Regions from separate parts of the Homo sapiens genome. Here region 1 is linked to region 2. The links are contacts of gene promoters, found by promoter capture Hi-C in blood cells and fetal thymus (Javierre and others, 2016). All regions are on one chromosome and are shown on one strand. The core of a region is centred on a gene start or on the middle of the fragment in contact, and the rest is flanking DNA. Distances in the headings are between cores, read along the strand shown.

The links. The method cuts DNA at HindIII sites, captures the fragments that hold promoters and counts their contacts. A CHiCAGO score of 5 or more calls a contact.
Region 1: a fragment that was not itself captured here is called in contact with the fragment with the promoter of LAMA3 in region 2 in 1 of 17 cell types (M1 macrophages); the score reaches 5.3 in M1 macrophages.

The regions. Positions count from the first base shown.
Region 1 is chr18:23,801,736-23,805,466 of GRCh38, reverse strand. The region is part of intron 12 of LAMA3 (laminin subunit alpha 3); the gene reads right to left. Among named protein-coding and RNA genes, the nearest start is that of LAMA3, 110 kb to the right of the region's middle. The HindIII fragment of the contact is 4,878 bases long and covers 1-3,731 here.
Region 2 is chr18:23,687,912-23,691,119 of GRCh38, reverse strand. LAMA3 (laminin subunit alpha 3) reads right to left here and starts at 1,667. Exons shown (of 75, transcript NM_198129.4): 1 at 1,143-1,667. The coding sequence starts at 1,436. RefSeq lists an enhancer at 1,759-2,308. The HindIII fragment of the contact is 9,125 bases long and covers 1-3,208 here.

The DNA of each region.
Region 1 (3,731 bases), core at 1,029-3,528, 110 kb before region 2:
AAAGGCCAAGTGGAAGCCATTAGAACTGCCTCTACCTAGGAAAATAGTACAACCAAAAGCAATACAACATTTCTGCAGGAATTGCAGAGATGAGGGCTACCATCAAAGACTTGAAAGATGCAGGGGTGGTGATTCCTACTGCTTGCCCATTCGATTCATCTATTTGGCCTGTACAGAACATAGATGTATCCTGGATAATGACAGTAGATTATTATAAACTTAACCAGGTAGCAACTCCAATTGCAGCTGCTATACTAGATGTGGCTTCATTGCTTGAGCAAATTAACATATCACCTGACACCTGGAATGCAGCTGTTAGTCTGGCAAATGCTTTTTTCCTTCACACCTTTAGTAAAAACCAACAAGCAGTTTGTTTTCAACTGGCCAGGCCAGCAATATACTTTCACTGTCTGTATTAGGCTATTTTTATGTTGCTATAAAGAAATACCTGGGGCTAGGTAATTTATGAAGAAAAGAAATTTAATTGGCATAGTTTTGCAAGCTGTACAGGAAGCATGGTGCCAGCATCTGCTTCTGGTGAGGGTCTCAGGGAACTTACAACCCATGGCAGAAGGTAAAGGGGAGCCAGTACATCACATAGCAAGAACAGAAGCAAGGTAGGGGGAGGTATCACACACTTTTAAACAACCAGATCTCAAGTGAACTCAGAGAGAGATCTCACCCACTATCAGGAGGACAATACTAAGCCATTCATGAAGGATCCATCTCCATGATCCAAACACCTCCCACCAGGCCCCACCTACAACATTGGGGATCAGATTTCAACACGAGGTTTGGAGGGGGCAAACATCCAAACTATATCACTGTCCTACATCAGGGGTCTATCAACTCTGGTCCTGTGTCATAATTTAGGTCACAGGGATCTTGATCACCTTTCCCTTCCATAAGGCATCACATCGGTCTATTACATTGAGGACATTATGCTAATTGGAGCTAGTGAACAAGAAGTAGCAACTACTCTAGACTTATTGGTAAGACATTTGGGTGTCAGGAGGTAAAAATTAAATGCAATAAAACATCCAGAGTCTTCTACCTCAGTTAAATTTCTAAGGGTCCAGTAGTGTGAGTCCCAGAACAAGGGAAGGCTCTGCAGCAGGTCCAGGCTGCTGTGTAAGCTGTTCTGCCACTTAAAGCATATGACTGAGCAGATCTAATGGTGCTTTTAAGTGTCAGTGGCAGATAGGGATGCTTTTTGGAGCCTTCAGCAGGCCCACATAAGTGAACGACAGTGCAGACCCTTAGGATTTTGGAGCAAAGTCCTGCCACCGTCTACATATAAGCCATCCTCTGCAGATAACTTTTTTTTGAGAAACAGCTTTTCACTTTCTACTGGGTCTTAGTAGAGACAGAAGGCTTAACCATGGGCCATGAAGTCACTATGTGATGTGAGCTGACCATTATGAACTGGGTGTTATCTGACCCACGAAGCCATAAGTTGGGCAAGCACAGCAGCATTCCGTCATCAAATGGAAGTGGTATACATAAGATTGGATCCAAGCAGCCTCTACACAAGTAAGCTATGCAAAGAACGCCACACTCCACACTCCTGCTACATTCCACATCTACAGCATTATGGTGAGTTCCTTGTGATCAGTTAACAAAGAAAGAGAAAACTTAGGCCTGTTTTAGACCAGGTATTGCAAGATATGGAGGCATCACCTGAAAGTGGACAGCTGCAGCACATTTGTGCCTTTCTGGGACATCCTGAAGGACAGTGGTGAAGGGAAATCCTCCCAGTAGGGAGAACTTTGAGCAGTGTGCTGGTTGTTCACTTTGCTTGGAAGGAGAAATGGCCAGATGTGAAATTACATATTGATTAATGGGCTGTGGCCAATTCTTTGACTGGATGGCCAGGGACTTTGAAGGAACATGATTGGAAAATTGGTGACAGGAAGATCTGGGGAAGGGTCTGAGTGAAAACCCTCTCTAAATGGCTAAGAAACATGTCCTAGGTGAATGCTTCCCAAGTAGACAGGAGGATCTGTTCTGTGGATACCCGGCAGCCTCTGTCCCATCCACTTCTATCATTGTCCAGTGGGCTCATAACAAAGTAGCCATGGGGGCAGGGATGGAGTTTATCCCTGGGCTCAGCAAAATGTACTTCCACTCACCACAGCTGAGTTCCCAGTCTGCGAGCAGCAGAGACCAATACCAAGTCCTCAATATGGCACCATTCTCCAGGGTAATCAGCTGGCTACCTGGTGGCAGGTTAATTACTTTGAACTGTCCTATCATGGAAGGGGAAGTGTTTTGTTCTTATTGGAATGGACACTTACTTGGATACAGAAATTCCTTCTCTGCATGCAATGCTTCTGTCAAAACTACATTTGTAGACTTACAGAATGCTTTATTTACTGTCATAGTATCCACATAGTATTGCTTCTGATCAAAGAACTCGCTTCACAACAAATGGAATGCAGCAGTGAGCCCATGGTCATGGAATTCACTAATCTCACCACTTTCCCCACCATCCTGAACAGGTGGCTTAATACAACAGTGGAATGGCCTTTTGAAAACTCAGTTACAGTGAGTTTTCACTGTAGGTGAAAACTACTAGGTGGCAGTACCTTGCGGGGCTGAGGCAAGTTTCTCCAGAAAGCAGTATCTGCTCTGAATCATTGTACAACATATGGTTTCTCTGATAGCCAAGATTCACGAGTTCAGGAATCAAGAGGTAGAAATGGGAGTGGCATCACTCACTATAAACCCTAGTAATCAACTAGCTTCCAATCCCAGCTGCCTTCTGCTCTGGTGGTCGAGAGGTCTTAGTTCCAGAGGAAGAAATGCTTCTACCAGGAGACGTGACGATCATTCTATTGAACTGGAAGTTAAGACTGCTACATGGTTTCCTCATTCCTCTGAATCAACAGATGAAGATAGAAGCAATTGTGTTCCACTAATTACCAAGGGGAAAATGAACTGTTCTTCAAAAATGGAGGTAAGGAAGAATATGTCTAGAATACAGGAGATGACTTAAGGTGTCTCTTAGTATTACCATGTCTTGTGATTAAAGTCAATGGAAAACTACAACCCAATTCAGGCAAGACTACTGATGTCCTAGACCCTTCAAGAATGAAGATTTGTGTCACTTCACCAGGTAAAGAACCATGAGGTGCTTGCTGAGGGCAAAGGGAATATGGAATGGGTGGCAGAAGAAGGTAGTTACAAATACAGTTTGAGTATCCCTTATCCGAAATGCTGGGACCAAACATGTTTTAGATTTTTTATTTTTTCAGATTTTGGAATATTTGCATTATACCTGATTGGGCATCTCAAATTTGAATATTCAAAATCCAAAATTTTCCAATGAGTATTTGTTTTGAGCATCGTGTCAGCACTCAAAAAGTTCTGGATGCGGGAGCATTTTGGATTTTTGTATTTGGGATGCTCAACTTATACCAGCTATGACCATGTGACCTGTTACAGAAATTAGTATTTGTAATTGTAGTGAGTATTTCTTCCTATTTTGTTATGAATATGTTTTTTCTGTATATGCGTATGTTATATGTATGTAAAACAAAAATCTTTGTTTTCCAACTGAACAGCAAAAAATCAAATAATGTGATTTAAAAGTGGGCAAAGGATATAAATAGACATTTCTAAAAAGAAGACATACAAAAGGCCAACAAGTATACGAAAAAATGTTCAACATCACTAATCATCAGGGAAATGAAAATCAAACCCACAATGAGATATCATCTCCGTTAGAA
Region 2 (3,208 bases), core at 418-2,917:
GCTCCCTCTTCCCACTTCCTGTTCCTCAACAATACTTTGCAGAAGAAGGAGGCAATTTGGGCTTAGTGTCCAGGATTTGAAGTCAGGACTGGATTCAAATTCTCCTGCCCCTTTGGGAGGTCAAGACAGAAGGACAGCTTGAGGCTAAGAGTTTGAGACCAGCTTGGGCAAAATAGCCAGACTCTGTCTCTACAGAAAAATAAATAAATAAATAAATAAATAAATAAATAAATAAATAAATAAATAATTGCCAGGCCTGAGGTTGCAGTGAGCCGAGATCGCACCATTGCATTTCAGCCCCGGCGACAGTGCGAGACTCTGTCTCAAAAAAAAAAAAAAAAAATTGCCAGGCACGGGGGGGCACGCCTGTAGTCCCAGCTACGCCCAAGGCTGAGGCGGGAGGATCCCTTGAGCCCAGGAGTTCGAGGCTGCCGTGAGCCGTGATCGCACCACTGCACTCTTGCCTGGCTGAGACCTGTGAGTAAGGGCCAGGCACTGCAAGATGCTGCTTAACATGCACCGCAATGTCGTTTGCCCCGGGTGTTCGCGGTGAGGCTCGGATCTCTGAGAGCCTTTCTATCTCTGTCCGCCTAAGGTCTCATTCGCCCCCAATGACTGGATGGTGGCACTTCAGGCAGTGCAGTGAAGTGAATCTTTTCAGTAACATTAGAGTGATACCGCTGTTATAACCTAAAAATTCTCTCTTAAAATACACCACAGAAGGTAATTGCCACCGACTTCTCCGAATAAGGCCCGGGAGGTGGGGCAGGAGGCGCCCCTGAACCCTCGAGGACTCAAGCCTGGCGGGACGCTCCGTGGGTGACGGAGGCGGGAAGGGCCGAGGCGCCTGCATCTCTTAGAGCGCAGCCTCACACTTTCCCCTCCACCAGCCCGAACCTGACCACAGCCTCATGTCACCTCGCGTGCTCCCCCTCCTCGCCTCGGGCCGGTGGTGCCGGTGCGGTGCTTCCACGAGATCGCTCCTGGGTCGTGGGCCCTCGCGCGCGGGGATGGGGGCTGCCCTTCCCAGTCGCCCGGAGCCACTAGCGCGCGTGAGGAAAGGGCCCGATCCCTTCTCCGGGTGTCTGGCCGGCGCGGGAAGGAAAAGGCGCGCCCACCCCGGCTCTCTCCGAGGCCCTCACCTGGATGGTGTGGCCGCTGCCTGGGGCGGTGGGGCCCCCGACCAACTTGCAGTAGAGCTCGGGCTGGGGCCTCCCCTCGCCGGGTCCCCTCTCCCCGCAGGTGGCGGTGGCCCAAATCCTCGCCGCCTCGGCCAGGTTGAAGTAAGTCGGGTGAAGGCTGAGCCCGGCCGCGGCCCCGGGATCCCGAGCGGTCGCCCCGCAGGCTGGCAGCACCCGCAGTACCAGCAGGAGCAGCGGCGTCGGCGGCAGTACTGGCCCCAGTGCCCGACCCCGAGGCCGCGCGGCCGCCGCCATCCAGCCGCGCGGGGTCCTCCCGCCTGAGCCGTCCGCAGAGGGGCTCGGGGGCACCGCCGCTCTCCGCCTGCGCCTCCCGGACCTGCAGCGCCAGGACTAGCGCAGCCGGGGATATGGGCGGCGCCGGGGCCGCTCCCCTTGCTCCACGCGCTGGAAGCCCGCGGCGTGGGGGTGGCCTCTCAGCTCTGGAACCTGCCGCGGCTGGAGCGGGCACCAGCCGGATCAGGAACTGACAGCGCTCAGCCGCGCGCCAGCAGACGGCGTCTCTCCCGCGCGAGGCGCGCTGCAAACTTCGCGGGCGGGGAATGGGAGAGGCGTTCCCGGGCTCCCACCCAGGCGGCGGGAACGGGAGCCTGGGATCTTCGAACCCTCCAGGCGCCAGGACAGAAATTAATTAGATCGTTCTCCTCTCTGGATACTCACCGCTCAGGTCAAAGCCAGAAAAGCCACCTGTGACCTAAGAGTAAAGGAGGCTTGTAAACGAATTTGGTTGAGAGCAGAGGAAACTGCCACTACCTACAGAACTCACATCAAAGACATTTCGATTTCCCAGCCAAGTGTTGAGTCGTCAACTCCTCAACACTGTGCACCTAGGATCCCTGTGGCACTGCAGCCACAGGCTGAGCCAGGGAACTGGGAGTGGTGGAACGTACATATTTAAAAGACAGCCAATAATGCAAGTTGTAATTTGCCAACCTGGAAAGGAACCTTAGAGGAAATCCTTTAGATGCCTAATCTGCTCAATTTTACAAATAAGCTAACAGAGATTGAGTGAGGTACGCCACCTGCCATGATGGCCTCAGAACAGAGAAGACCCCCTCCCCCCACGACCCCGGACTGATGCTTGGTCTTATATGCAGAACACCCTACTAAAACAGAACCCACATAGGCCCTCGAAGAAATTAGAGGAATGCAATATTTGTACAATAAAAATTGCAAAACCTCTTTGAAAGAAATGTTAAAAGACCTAAATGAGTGGAAAAGCCTCCCATGTTCATGGATTAGGAGACAATATTGTGAAGATGGCAATATTTCCTAAAGCAACCTACAATTCAACACAATGGATTTTGATAGGGATCAAAATCCCGACTTTTTTTTTTTTCAGAAATTGACAAGCTGATCCTAAAATTCATGTGGAAATGCAAGAGACCTAGAAAATCCAAAACGATTCTGAGAAAGAATGAAGTCAGTGGACTCACGCTTCCTAGTTTTAAAACTTAATACAAAACTACAGTAATCAAGACAGTGTAGTACCGACATAACGATAAACATAGATCAATGGAATAGAATTGAGAGCTCAGAAATAAACCGTTACATTTATGGTCACTGGATTTTCAACAGGGTGCCAAGACTATTCAATGGGAAAAGAATAATATTTTTAATAAACGCTGCTGGGAAAACTGGACATCCCAAAATAATCTAGTAGGATCCCCACCTCATACTATATGCAAAAATTAACTCAAAATGGATTTAAGATCTCTAAATTTTACATTTAGAGAGCTAAACTATAAAGCTAAAACTATAAAATTCTAAGGGAAAAACACAGGAGAAAATCTTCATGACTTTGGATTAGCAATGCTGTCTTAGCTATGATATCAAAAGCGCAAGCAACAAAAGAAAAATATAAATTGGGCCGGGCACGGTGGCTCATGCCTGTAATCCTAGTACTTTGGGAGGCCGAGGTGGGTGGATCACCTGAGGTCAGGAGTTCAAGACTAGCCTGGGGAAAATGGTGAAACCCTGTATCTACTAAAAATACAAAACTTAGCCAG